3 separate regions of the Homo sapiens genome follow, and all the other regions are linked to region 2. Evidence: promoter capture Hi-C in 16 types of primary human blood cells and fetal thymus (Javierre and others, 2016). All regions are on one chromosome and are shown on one strand. Each heading gives the region's core, a stretch centred on a gene start or on the middle of the fragment in contact. The rest is flanking DNA. Distances are from core to core; before and after follow the strand shown. Region 1 has its middle 27 kb from the start of SDHAF1. Region 2 holds the start of UPK1A-AS1 (UPK1A antisense RNA 1). Region 3 holds the start of LINC01531 (long intergenic non-protein coding RNA 1531).

Region 1 (4,297 bases), core at 1,413-3,912, 300 kb after region 2:
CTTTCTGCTGATACATACAGACCCAGTTTATTTTAAATTGGGAACACTGATAGCTTCTGAATGTTGAGTTTCCAGTGCCAGGGACCCTGGAGGCCCGGGGTATGAAGGCAGGTCGGGGATGAGGCTAAATTCCAGGATCCAATTATATTGCATCCTTCCCTCATCTCATCTCTAAATATTTTGACTGAGGAGGAAGTGAGCCCTTTCATAGAGTCCCATCCCCTCCTAGTCTTCCCTGGTGATGCCACTCCAGTTCCAGGTCTCCTGTGAGGGCCATACATGCTCTGATGGGACCACATGTCAGCTTGTGAAGCACAGACTTAAGTGTGTGGCTGGGCACAGTGGCTCACACTTGTAATCCCAGCACTTTGGAAGGCAGAGATGGGTGGATCACTTAAGCTCAGGAGTTGGAGACCACCATGGGCAAAATGGCAAAACCCTGACTCTACAAGAAATACAAAAATTAGCCAGGTGGCATGCACCTGTAGTCCCAGCTACTTAGGAGGCTGAGGTGGGAAGATGGCTTGAGTCCAGGAGGTGGAGGTTGCAGTGAGCTGAGATCGCACCACTGCACCTCAGCCTGGGCAACAGAGCCAGACCCTGCCTCAAAATAAAAAAGAAAAAGAAAAAAGAAAAAAACAAAAAACAAAAAAGTAATTTAAAATCTAAATAAATAAATAAATGAAAAAGGCCTAAATGTGTGCCCACCACTCAGGTCACATGTGAGTCTGAGACCTTGTCCAGTTCCAAGATGGCAGGACTCCAAAACACCGTCCATCTTCAGCTCTAAGACCATGGCAGTGGCTGCATCAGGACCAAACAACACACCTGAAGCTGAGCCAAGGCTTGTGCCTGTGCTCCTGGGGGGACCTGAGCCTGAACCTGTGGCCATGGCTCATCTGGGGCTTGCACAAGTGACCGTAAATGAACCCTGCCCTGAACCTGTAGCTGCAGCCGCACCAGTGCCTCGACTTGTGACTGTGAAAGAACCACTTCCTGCAACTCTGGCTGTAGCTGAACCAGCACCTATACCACCTACCAAACCCATAGCTAACCATTGTCTACAACCATGTCCAAAACCAAGACAGTATCTGTGTCTGGGTCAGAACTGTCTCATGGCCAAGCTGGGGCTCAAGGTGGTGACAGTGACTAAACCAAGCTTAAAGACTCTGGCTGTGGCAAAATTAGGACTTGACTGTAGCAAAGGACAAGGGGCCATCACAGGGGCTACCACCTGAGCCTCTGGGCTACCATACATCTAGACTTTTTTTCTTTCTTTCTTTCTTTTTTTTTTTTTTTTGAGAAGGAGTTTTGCTCTTGTTGCCCAGGCTGGAGTGCAATGGCACGATCTCGGCTCATTGCAACCTCTACCTCCCGGGTAGAGGTTCAAGCTTGAAGGTTCTACCTTCAAGCGATTCTCCTGCCTCAGCCTCCTGAGTAGCTGGGATTACAGGCATGTGCCATTACACCAGGCTAATTTTGTATTTTTAGTAGAGATGGGGTTTCTCCATGTTGGACAGGCTGGTCTTGAACTCCCAACCTCAGGTGATCCGCCCACCTCAGCCTTCCAAAATGCTGGGATTACAGGCATGAGCCACCGCACCCGGCCTGATTTCTTTTTTTTTTTAAAGACAGGGTCGGGCCTGGCGCAGTGGCTCATGTCTGTAATCCCAGCACTTTGGGAGGCCGAGATGGGCGGATCACAAGGTTAGCAGTTTGAGACCAGCTGGCCAATAATGGTGAAACCCCGTTTCTACTAAAAATACAAAAAAATTAGCCAGGCATGGTGGCGGGTCCCTGTAATCCCAGCTACTTGGGAGGCTGAGGCAAGAGAATTGCTTGAATTCGGGAGGTGGAGGTTGCAGTGAGCCGAGATTGCACCACTGCACTTCCAGCCTGGACGACAGAGCAAGACTCCATCTAAAAAAAAAAAAAAAAAAAAAAAAAGACAGGGTCTTGCCGTCACCCACACTGGAGTTCAATGTCACAGTCTCAGCTCCCTGTAGCCTCTGTCTCCCAAGCTCAAGCAATTCGCTTGCCTCAACCTCCCGAGTACCTGGGATTACAGGTGTGCACCACCACGCCTGGCTAATTTCTGTATTTTTAGAGACGGGGTGTCACCATGTTGGCCAGGCTGGTCCAAACTCCTGGCCTCAAGCGATCTGCTCACCTCAGCCTCCTAAAGTGCCGGGATCACAGACGTGAGCCGTCGTGCCTGGCCAGTATACATCTAGATTTTCAATGACCACTTGTTCCCCATGCCTGGGATCTGCACCTACATGCTGAGCTGATGCCCCTAGTCCCTCCTCAGCAGCCTCCCTGCCTCCTAACTGTGGGTCTCCTGTCCTGAAGGGAGGCAGCCCATGTGCTTTGTCACAGGGTGCATCTTTGGTATTACCATCACTGCTGTCAAGCACAAGTGTGGCCCTATCCAGATAAGAATCACAGTGTATGGGATCTTGGGAGACCCCATCCTTCTCTGTTCATCAATTTTGGGAGCTTTTTTTCTTTTTCGAGACAGGGTCTTGTTTAGTCACCCAGGCTGGAGTGCAATGGTGCCATCATAGCTCACTGTAGCCTCAATCTCCTGGGCTCAAGTGATCCTCCCACCTCAGCCTCCCAAGTAGCTAGGACCACAGGCACACACTACCATGCCTGGCTCTTTAAATTGTTTTGAAGAGACAGGGTCTCGCTATATTGTCCAGGCTGGTCTCAAACTCCTGGCCTCAAGCAATCTTCTGTCCTCGGCCTCCCAAAGCACTAGAATCACAGGCATGTGAGCCACCATGCCTGGCAGGTCATTTTTGTCACCTCTAAAATAGAAGCAATGATATAGGCTGGGGCGGTGGCTCACATCTGTAATCCTAGCGCTTTGGGAGGCTGAGGCAGGCGGATCACCTGAGGTCAGGAGTTCGAGACCAGCCTGGCCAACATGGTGAAACCCCGTCTCTACTAAAAATACAAAAATTAGCTGGGCCTGGTGGCGCTCACCTGTAGTTTCAGCTACTAGGGAGGCTGAGGTGGGAGGATCACTTGAACCCAAGAGGCAGAGGTTGCAGTGAGCAGAGTGTGCCAGTGCACTCCAGCCTGAGTGACAGAGCAAGACTGTCTCAAAGAAAAAAAAAATTGTTTACCGGGCATAGTGGCTCATGCCCATAATCCCAGCACTTTGGGAGGCCAAGGTGGGCGGATCACCTAAGGTCAGGAGTTCGAGACCAGCCTGGCCAACATGGTGAAATCCCATCCCTACTAAAAACACAAAAATTAGCTGGGCATGGTGGCGGGTGCCTGTAATCCCAGCTACTGGGGATGCTAAAGAAGGAGAATCACTTGAACCTGGGAGGCAGAAGTTGTAGTGAGCTGAGATCACGCCACCGAACTCCAGCCTGGGGGACACAGTGAGAGTCTGTCTCAAAAAAAAAAAAAAAAAAAAAAAAAAAAAAAAAAAGATGCAATTATACAGGTCCAAAGTCCCTTATCTAAAATGTCTGGGGCCAGGTGCATTTCAGATTTTGGAATTTAGAATGGTCAAACCAGGCAAATGCCACATATTATATAACACTCCCAGTGTGTGTTACATAATCACAAACATTAATATCTTTGCAGTGAAATGTCTGAATAGTCACACAAAGGAGGATAAATTAAGACTATAGCAGCCACACATGAGTTCAGGTTAGCTTTTGCTGATAATTGAGTTTTAACATCAAACACACAAAACATATTCAGTCTTCAGGTCTTTTGGTTGTTGTTGTTGTTGTTTGCTTTTGTAGATGGTAGATAAGGGATTGTGGCTCTCTAGCTCCTCCCTCAGCAGGTTCCTGTGAGGTGAGAATGAGTTAACACAGGAAAAGCACTTGGAACAGAGTCCAACTCATGGTAAGTGTCATATGAGGGGGTGTTTGCTGTGTTTATCATTTCCTGACACAGGCATATGAAGCTTCCAAATTCCCCGAGCTGTGAACATATCCTAGGACCACATGCAGCCACTAGCATGTCCCAAATCTCTCCTCCAGGAAGGTTTAGGGGCTCTGCTCTGGTTAGAAGGTTGTGGGGGCTAGAGTATGTTTAATCCGGGTTGCTGGCTGGGGGGACCTGATGAAGGTTATGATGTACTAGTGTACCCAGACCAAACCGAGGGTTGGGCTGCTTATTCTCACAGCCTAATAATGAGACACAAATAAACTGGGAAAGAAGAGAATTTTTATTTCTGTAACTGATTACAGGGAGAAGGCCTGGAAATTATCCCCAGATCAACTCAAAATTATAACGTTTTCCAGAGCTTATATACATTCTAGGC
Region 2 (4,802 bases), core at 779-3,278:
TGTAGTCCCAGCTACTCGGGAGGCTGAGGCAGGAGAATGGCGTGAACCCGGGAGGCGCAGCTTGCAGTGAGCAGAGATCGCGCCACTGCACTCCAGCCTGGGCGACAGAGCAAGACTCTGTCTCAAAAAAAAAAAAAAATTGTGTCTGTTTCCCCATTAGTTTGTCATTAACTAAGACATTTTCTCCCCAAATTTCTTTTTTTTTTTTTTTTTGAGACGGAGTCTTGCTCAGTTGCCCAGGCTGGAGTGCAGTGGTGCGATCTCGGCTCACTGCAAGCTCCGCCTCCCGGGTTCACGCCATTCTCCTGCCTCAGCCTCCCGAGTAGCTGGGACTACAGGCACCTGCCACCACGCCTGGTTAATTTTTTTTTTTGTATTTTTAGTAGAGATGGGGTTTCGCCGTGTTAGCCAGGATGGTCTCGATCTCCTGACCTCGTGATCCGCCCACCTCGGCTTCCCAAAGTGCTGAGATTACAGGCATGAGCCACCGTGCCCGGCCCCCAAATTTCTTACAGGAAATTTCTAAAGTAGACTAGAGTCCGCAGTATTTGAGCCCTGCATACCTCTCACCTGATTTCAACAACATCAGCTGCAGACTGCCCGACATTGTCTCCTCTATCCCCCTTCTCTCATACTTTTTCTTCTGGGTATTTTGAAGCACATTCTAGATGCCAAGTCACTTGCCTGTAAATACTGGAGCACACATTTCTCTGAGTGATAAGCACATTGTTTTAAAGCAGTCAGGAGGTTGTGCAATGTCATCCATCTCCCAGCAGCAGAGTTCACACATCCACACGCAACCTCCTGCTGCTTTATAGATGAAGGTGCCAGGTGAGGACATGAAAAGAATTTGCATTAAACATCAACTGACAAGCTTTTTTTTTTCTCCTGCCCTCTGTGCCGTTGGCACAACCCACCAAATTCAATCAAGTTCTTCTATATCTTCCAATACCCAGTCTGTGTCAAATGTCTCTGATTATCTGAGAACATCGTTTTATGTTGTTTGTTTTATTTTAAGAGACAGGGTCTCACTCTGTTGCCCAGGCTGGAGTGTAATGGCACAATCTCGGCTCATTGCAACCTCTGCCTCCTGGGTTCAAGCTATTCTCCTATCTCATCCTCCTGAGTAGCTGGGATTACAGGCACCCATCACCATGCCCAGCTAATTTTTGTATTTTTGCATTTTTAGTAGATGGGGTTTCACCATATTGGTCAGGCTGGTCTTGAACTCCTGACCTCAGGTGATCCACCCGTCTCAACCTCCCAAAGTGTTGGGATTACAGGCGTAAGCCACTGCACCCACCCTTGTTTGTTTTGTTTTAAGAGACAGGGTTTTGCTCTGTTGCCCAGGCAGGAATGCAGTGGTGCGATCATAGCTCGCTGAGGCCTCCAACTACTGGGCTCAAACGATCCTCCAACCTCAGCCTCCCAAATAGCTAGGACTAACACTACCACTAGTAGTAACTATGCTTAACTAATTTTTTTATTTTTATTTTTTGTAGCGACGGGGTCTCACTGTGTTGCCCAGGCTGATCTTGAACTCCAGGGTTCAAGCAATCTTCCCATCTCAGCCTCCCAAAGTGCTGGGATTACAGGTGTGAGCCACCAATGCCCAGCCCTAATTTTTGTATTTTTAGTAGAGAAGGGGTTTCACCATGTTGGCCAGGCTGGTCTCGAACTCCTGACTCAGGTGATCGCCCCCTCGGCCTCCCAAAGTGCTGGGATTATAGGCGTGAGCCACCACGCCTCGCCTGTCTCAAAAATAAATTAATTAAATTAAATATTTCAAAATACAGAAAAGTTGGAAGACAATACAGCGAACACCTGAACACCCACCACATATTATAGATGCTGCTAGTCACACTGCCCCAAACTTTTTTAAAACTTGCATTTCCCCAGTGATGCTTCCCTGACGGGGTGTGGCTTCACGGGCTCTGCCCGACGGGCCGTCCTCCCTCTGTCTCCCCAGTACCTGGTGCTCATGCTCATCGTCTACATCTTCGAGTGCGCCTCCTGCATCACGTCCTACACCCACCGTGACTACGTGAGCCCGGCGAGGCCTGGGGAGGGGCCTGACCTGCATGGGAGGGGCGAGGGTCCCGGCGCGGCGGGGCGGAGGTCGTCCTCTCTCCCCACCCAGCCCTGCCGGCCCTTGTTCTTCCCTGTTCTCCTCAGATGGTGTCCAACCCATCCCTGATCACCAAGCAGATGCTGACCTTCTACAGCGCGGACACCGACCAGGGCCAGGAGCTGACCCGCCTCTGGGACCGCGTCATGATTGAGGTGGGCGGGGTGGACCGGGTGCTGGGAGGGCCCTGGGCTCCGTCCACAGAGGCCGATAGAGCTCCCGATGTGCCAGCTTTTAGAGGAGTGAGTGCCTTAAAGACATCCGCTCATGAGATCTCTAGGAGAGCAGGGCTGCGGTCATCACCGTTCTGCGGATGAGTAAACAGGCCCAGAAAGGGAAAGTCCCTTGCCCGAGGCCACACAGTCGGTAAGTGGTGGGAGCTGGGATTGGAACCCGGCAGCCTAGCTCCTGACCTCCCTGCTCTTAGCCTACACATACTACCTCAACAGAAATGTTGATAATAACAATGATAGTAACAGCACCATTCACTGAGCTAGGTTTCACACTGTTCAAAGGACTTTTATTTTTATATTTTGAGATGGGGTCTTGCTCTGTTGCCCAGGCTGGAGTGATCATAGCTCACTGCAACCTCCAACTCCTGGGCTCAAGTGATCCTCCCGCCTCAGCTTCCCGAGTAGCTGGGAATACAGGTGCGCCCCACCACACCCGGCTAAGTTTTTTAAATTATCTTTTGTGGAGATGGGGGTCTTGCTCTATTGCCCAGGCTGGTCTGGAACTCCTGGGCTCAGGATTGGAGCGATTCTCCCACCTCCGCCTCTCAAAGTGCCGAGATCACAGGCATGAGCCACGAGTGCCTGGCCTCAAAGCACATTTTTTTTTTTCTTTTTATCTTTTTTTTTTTTTTTTTTTTTTTGAGACAGAGTCTTGCTCTGTCGCCCAGGCTGGAATGCAGTGGCGCGATCTCGGCTCACTGCAAGCTCCGCCTCCCGGGTTCACGCTATTCTCCTGCCTCAGCCTCCCGAATAGCTGGGACTACAGGCGCCTGCCACCGCGCCCAGCTGATTTTTTGTATTTTTAGTAGAGATGGGTGTTAGCCAGGATGGTCTTGATCTCCTGACCTTGTGATCCACCTGCCTCGGCCTCCCAAAGTGCTGGGATTACAGGCTTGAGCCACCGTGCCCAGCCTTTCAAAGCACTTTTAAAGCTTTTTTAATCCTCACGACCACTCCATAAGGGAGATCGGCCTTTTAGTGATGAGGAGACCAAAGCAAGAGGTTGAATATCTTGCATGAGGTCACACACCTGGTAGGTCACAGAACTGGAAGGATTCAAACTCAGACTTCCAGGTTTGAAGAGATACAGTCTTCCTCAAATCCAACATGATATTGCACTGGAAAAGGAAGAAATTGGCTGGGTGCAGTGGCTCAAACCTATAATCCCAACACTTTGGGAGGCAAAGGCGGGCAGATCACTTGAGTTCAGGGGTTCAAGACCATCCTGGCCAACATGGTGAAACCCTGTCTCTACAAAAAATACAAAAATTAGTCAGGTGTAGTAGTGTGCGCCTGTGATTCCAGCTACTTGGGAGGCTGAGGCAGGAGAATCACTTGAACCCAGGAGGGGGAGGTTGCAGTGAGCCAAGATGGCGCCACTGTACTCCAGCCTGGACAACAGAGGGAGACTCCGTCTCAAAAAAAAAAAAAAAAAAGAAGAAGAAATTGAGGACTCAAGGAAAACTGAGGCGTCAATGTGGCCCAAGTCCTCTAGCTAGCCAGGATTTGAACCCATGTTTGAAGGGTGCCCAAGCCTATGTTTTCCTCATTCAGGAGCCACAAATTAAACACCTGGATTCCTTACCAAGGCCAGGAAAAGCCAGAAATCTGCCCTTTTTGTGTTATTTTATCAGCATAGTTGTTGATAAAAATATTTTATTTTATTTTATTTTTTGAGATGGAGTTTCATTCTTGATTCCCAGGCTGGAGTGCAGTGGCACGATCTTGGCTCACTGCAGTCGCCACCTCCCGGATTCAAGCAATTCTCCTGCCCCAGCCTCTCAAGTAGCTGGGATTACAGGCGCCCACCACCACACCCGGCAAATTTTGTATTTTTAGTAGAGACGGGGTTTCATCATGTTGGTCAGGCTGGTCTCGAACTCCTGACCTCAGGTGATCCATCCACCTCGGCCTCCCAGAGAGCTGGGATTACAGGCGTGAGACACCGTGCCCGGCAAAAATATTTTAAAATAAGTCAGAGGTGCAGGTTTAATCCAAATCCCCCATCAGCCTCCTGGTCCTGGGACAAATATTGTCTGCACCGTGCTCACACACACAGACACCCACCGGACACACTCGCTTGGAGGCCCAGGACATGGGGAAGTTGGGCCCAGCTGTGTCAAAGGCCAATCCTGCCCCTCCTTGCTGTGTGACCTCAGGCAAGCAACTGTCCTCTCTGAGCCCGAGCCTGCCTGACCCCCTGCTTTTCACTCTAGCAAGAATGCTGTGGCACATCTGGTCCCATGGACTGGGTGAACTTCACGTCAGCCTTCCGGGCGGCCACTCCGGAGGTGGTGTTCCCCTGGCCCCCACTGTGCTGTCGCCGGACGGGAAACTTCATCCCCCTCAACGAGGAGGGCTGCCGCCTGGGGCACATGGACTACCTGTTCACCAAGGTGTGGCCGTCTGCCCTGCTCCATCTGTCTATCCATCTGTCTGTC
Region 3 (4,850 bases), core at 156-2,655, 270 kb before region 2:
ATCTCAAGTCCAACTCAACCGAGCCATGGTTCAGGCTAAGTTCCCGCTGGTGCCCCTACCTGGAACGCTCTTCAGATAGTGGCTCCTTCTCACCCATTCAAATGTCCCAGGCCTTTCCTGACAGGCCCTGCCCATCTCTCTCTCTCTCTCTCTCAATTTCCCTGCTTGCTTTTTGTTGTTGTTGTTGTTGTTGTTTGATTTTTGGTCCTTTTTTTTTTTTTTTTTTGAGGCAGAGTCTTCCTCTGTCGCCCAGGCTGGAGTGCAGTGGCATGATCTCGGCTGACTGCAATCTCTGCCTCCCAGGTTAAGGTGATTCTCCTGCCCCAGTCTCCTGAGTAGCTGGGATTACCAGTGCCCGCCACCATACCTGGCTAATTTTTGTATTTTTAGTAGAGACAGAGTTTCACCATGTTGGCCAGGCTGGTCTCAAACTCCTGACCTCAAGTGATGTGCCCGCCTCAGCTTCCCAAAGTGCTGGGGTTACAGGCATGAACCCCACCACGCCTAGCCGATTTATTTTCTTTCCCTTTTTTTTCCCCCAGACAGGACCACTGGATTGGAGTGGTGCCATCATAGTTCATTTTAATTTCCAACTCCTAGGCTCAAGTGATCCTCCCGCCTCAGCCTCCTGAGTATCTAGGACTACAGGTGTGCACCACCATGCCTGGCTAATTTTTTATTTTTATCCTTTTTTGTAGAGACAGGGGATCTCACTATGTTGCCCAGGCTGGTCTCAAACACCCAGCCTTAAGCAATCCTCCTCCTGCCTCAGCCTCCTAAGTAGCTGGGATTATAGGTGTGAGCCACCATGCCTGACTTTTTATCTCACTTTTTGTAGAGACGGGGTATCGCTATGTTGACCAGGCTGGTTTTGAACTCCTGGCCTCAAGCAGTCCTCCTGCCTGGGCCTCCCAAAGCGTTGAGATCACAGACGTGAGCCACCTTGCCTGGCCTACTTCCTTTCTTCCTGTAAAATTGCCTTGTTGGTTTGTCTACTTGTTTTCTGTTCATCCTGTTCACTCTTGTCTCCAGCTCCTAGAACAGTACCTCACACAGAGTAACGGCTCCATGTGTTTTGTGACAGGGAAGCAGACAGTGTGGCTTGTTGGAGAGGAGCCACATACCCCCGCCCCCCGATTCATACATGGTGTGACTCAGCCCGAACCATTGCTCAGTTGAGTTGGATTTGAGATGATGCACTGCCCACTCCCGTGATACAGCTGTGTGTGAGGTCAGCACAGTCTTGGGGTGCTGCCAGACAACTTAGTTTGAATTCTCCCTTTGACTCATTGGAACCTAGACCTCAGCACCAAAGATGTCCCCATACCAGTAACCCGGGCAACAGAATGCAGATAAAGGACAGGAGACAAAAGGCGCAGGTTCTGACACATTCTTTGCTTGTGTCATCAGCTAGCAAGTATTCACAGGCACATCCAACCTCCATCCTTACATTCCACAAGGATTTGAGTGTCTGTTATAGGCAAGGGACAATGCTAGGTTTTTTTTTCTAAAAACAAACTTGGGGCTGGGCATGGTGGCTCACACTTGTAATCCTAGCACTTTGGGAGGCCAAAGCGGGTGGACTGCCTGAGCTCAAGAGTTCGACAACTCTTGGTAACATGGTGAAACCCCGTCTCTGCCAAAAATACAAAAAATTAGCCAGATGCAGTGGCGTGCACCTGTGGCCCAGCTTCTCGGGAGGCTGAGGTGTGAGGATCACTTGAGCCCGAAAGGTGAAGGCTGCAGTGGGCCGCGATTGCACCACTGAACTCTAGCCTGGGCAACAGAGTGGGACCCTGTCTCAAAACAACAACAACAAAATAAGAAAGAAAGAAAGAAAAAGCGGAAGTGAGAGATGGATGTGCGTGTAGTCGTGTGGGATAATTGCCCATGGGAAGGAAACAGAATTCAACCTCTTGGAATGTAGGGGGAGGAGGAAGCCTGAAAAAACTGTTCAAATTTGGATTCTGGGCTGAGCACAGTGGCTCACGCCTGTAATCCCAGCACTTTGGGAGGCAAGGCAGGCGGATCACTTGAGGTTCGGAGTTCGAGACTAGCCTGGCCAACATGGTGAAACCCTGTCTACAAAAAATACAAAAATTAGTCGGGCGTGGTGTTGCACACCTGTAATCCCACTACTTGGAAGGCTGGGGTAGGAGAATCACTTGAACTAGGGAGGCAGAGGTTGCAGTGAGCTGAGATCGCACCACTAAACTCCAGCCTGGGTGATAGAGCAAGACTCTGCCTCAAAAAAAAAAAAATTGGACTCTGGGTGAAATAAGTCTGTTGGGGACAAAATCTGGTGGGAGACCCAGAAGGTCAAGCTGCTTTAGAAAGAGCTCAACCACTGACTTTCCTCTTTTTGACCACATGACTCTTCCAGGTATAAAAGCCTGCCGTTGGTGGAAAAGGAAAAGGTGGTCCAGTTAGACAAGATGCCACCGGCTTCTGAAACCAGACATCTTTGAAAACCCACCCATCTACCTGCAGGAAAAGGCAAGGGACCTGACCTCGCCTGGGCTCAGGGAAGAGGTTGCTGGGATCATAACCCCAGGAAGAGACGGGATGGAAGGAGAGCATGCAGGGAGCAGAGGACAGGCTACTCTCCAAGGAGGAGAGGGAAGAGGCCACAGAAATGGAAAAGGGGCCAGGACAAGTCAGTGGAGAGATGGTCAGGGCCTGGCGAGGAGGAGCAGGACAAAAGCGGTGGAGCTCAGCCCCGTGGCGGCAGGGCCACTCCCATTCATCTGGTCCTCTACTTCTGAAGTTCTCGAATGCAGAATGAGATGTACAGATGGGCCAGCAGGTGATATGCTATCTGTCATAGGTTAAGGCCTCATTATTTTATTCATTTTTAAACTTTTTTTTTTTTGAGACAGGGTCTTGTTCTGTCGCCCAGGCTGGTTTGCAGTGGTGCCACCATGGTTCACTGTAACCTTGAAGCCCCTGGGCTCAAGTGATCCTCCTGCCTCAGCCTCCAGAGTAACGAGGACTACAGGTGCACACCGCCATGCCCAGCTAATTTCTTAACGTTTTGTAGAGAAAGGCTCTCACTGTGTTGCCCAGGCTGGTCTTGAACTCCTTGACTCAAGCAATCCTCCTGTCTTGGCTTCCCAAAGTGTTGGGATTACAGGTGTGAGCCACTGCTCCCAGCCACAAGTTTTATTTTAAATGTTTACCTTTCAATGATCACTTCGAGGAGATTTAAGCTTACTCTTTCTTTTTTTTTTTTCTTGAGATGGAGTCTTGCTGTGTCGTCCAGGCTGGAGTGCAGTGGTGCTATCTTGGCTCACTGCAACCTCTGCTTCCCAGGTTCAAGTGATTCTCCTACCTCAGCCTCCCGAGTAGCTGAGACTACAGGCATGTGCCACCACTCCCTACTAATTTTTGTATTTTTAGTAGAGTCGGGGTTTCACCATGTTAGCCAGGTTGGTCTCGAACTCCTGACCTAAAGTGATCTGCCTGCCTCAGCCTCCCAAAGTGCTGGGAGGCATGAGCCACCATGCCTGGCTCATTGTCTAGTTTTTACCAAGAAGATGATGAGATATGCCAGAGGGCTCCGTATCTGCTATGAGAACGTCCCCCAAGAGCAGCTGGCCGTGGTGCTGCAGCTGGAGCTGTGCTTGGAGCTCTTCTTCACCCCCATGGCGGTCACCACCTTCTGCCACTGGCACTTTGTGCAGATCATGCTCTCTGGCCCCAAGTGGGGACCTGGAGGTGCTGAAGAGCCAAGAGACTGGCTGCCGTGACCCTCTTCAACTTCCTGGTCTGCTTGGACCCTGTGCTTTGTCTCCCATGGTGGGTTCCCCCAGTGGAAGAGTCAAATTGGTGGGCAGGCGCAGTGTTGTTCAGTGCTCTCGATGCTGCATTGACCCCTTGATTTTCTTTGTTTTTGTTTTTATTTTGTTTTGTTTTGTTTTTGAGATGGAGTCTTGCTCTGTCACCCAGGCTGGAGTGCAGTGGTGTGATGATCTTGGCTCACTGCAACCTCCGCCTCCTGGGTTCTCCTGCCTCAGCCTCCCGGGTAGCTGGGATTACAGGCACCCACCACCACACCCGGCTAATTTTTGTATTTTTAGTAGAGACGAGGTTTCAACCCCTACTCAGGCTGGTGTCAAACTCCTGACCGCAAGTGATCTGCCCACCTTGGCCTCCCAAAGTGTTGCAATTACAGGCGTGAGCCACCATGCCCAGCCTAACCCCTTGATTTTCTGTTTCTCTTCCTCCACCGTGCGCAAAGCCTTTGACAGAGGGCCACGGAGGTGGCAGCACGGCGGGGGTCTCACTGTCTGGGTGGTGGTGAAAGCTCTGGAGAGCCAGCTGCAGAGAGAAGATGTGGATCTTAGGGACGGCCAATGTCACCTTCACAGGAGATTAGAGGCGCCAGCTTGGGGTAACCTTTTGGGGAAGGAGGGCTCAAAAAGAGGAACAATGAAACAGAACTAAGGTGAGTTCTCCTGTGCCCAGTTTCAGAGGTCAAGGAGAGTAGTAGATAGCTCAAACCCAACTCAGCCATTGAGTGAGTGTTTTCATTTTGTTCCTTGGGGTCTATGATATTTTCTATTTTCTTTTCTTTCCTTTTGTTTTGGTTTGTTTGTTTGTTTGGTTGGTTGGTTGGTTGGTTGGTTTTAGAGACAGGGTTTCCCTCTGTCACCCAGGCTGGAATGCAGTAGTGTGATCACATCACACTGCAGCTTCTAACTCATGGGTTCAAGCCATCCTCCTGCCTCAGCCTCCTGAGTAGCTGGGACTCCAGGTGCACGCCACCATGGCCGGCTAATTGTTTATTTTTTATAGAGACAGGGTTTCACTATGTTGGCCAGGATGTTCAACAACTTCTGCCTTCAAGC

The links. The method cuts DNA at HindIII sites, captures the fragments that hold promoters and counts their contacts. A CHiCAGO score of 5 or more calls a contact.
Region 1: a contact is called between a fragment that was not itself captured here and the fragment with the promoter of UPK1A-AS1 in region 2, in 1 of 17 cell types (M1 macrophages). The highest score is 6.1, in M1 macrophages.
Region 3: a contact is called between the fragment with the promoter of LINC01531 here and the fragment with the promoter of UPK1A-AS1 in region 2, in 5 of 17 cell types (monocytes, neutrophils, M0 macrophages and 2 more). The highest score is 9.2, in monocytes.

The regions. Positions count from the first base shown.
Region 1 is chr19:35,965,995-35,970,291 of GRCh38, forward strand. No RefSeq gene overlaps it. Among named protein-coding and RNA genes, the nearest start is that of SDHAF1, 27 kb to the right of the region's middle. The HindIII fragment of the contact is 2,546 bases long and covers 1,390-3,935 here.
Region 2 is chr19:35,671,263-35,676,064 of GRCh38, forward strand. UPK1A-AS1 (UPK1A antisense RNA 1) reads right to left here and starts at 2,029. Exons shown (of 2, transcript NR_046420.1): 1 at 1,973-2,029. It overlaps UPK1A (uroplakin 1A), which reads left to right. Exons shown (of 8, transcript NM_007000.4): 4 at 1,970-2,044; 5 at 2,176-2,283; 6 at 4,578-4,757. The HindIII fragment of the contact is 2,419 bases long and covers 873-3,291 here.
Region 3 is chr19:35,404,202-35,409,051 of GRCh38, forward strand. LINC01531 (long intergenic non-protein coding RNA 1531) reads left to right here and starts at 1,406. Exons shown (of 5, transcript NR_040046.1): 1 at 1,406-1,480; 2 at 2,384-4,850. The HindIII fragment of the contact is 14,783 bases long and covers 1-3,207 here.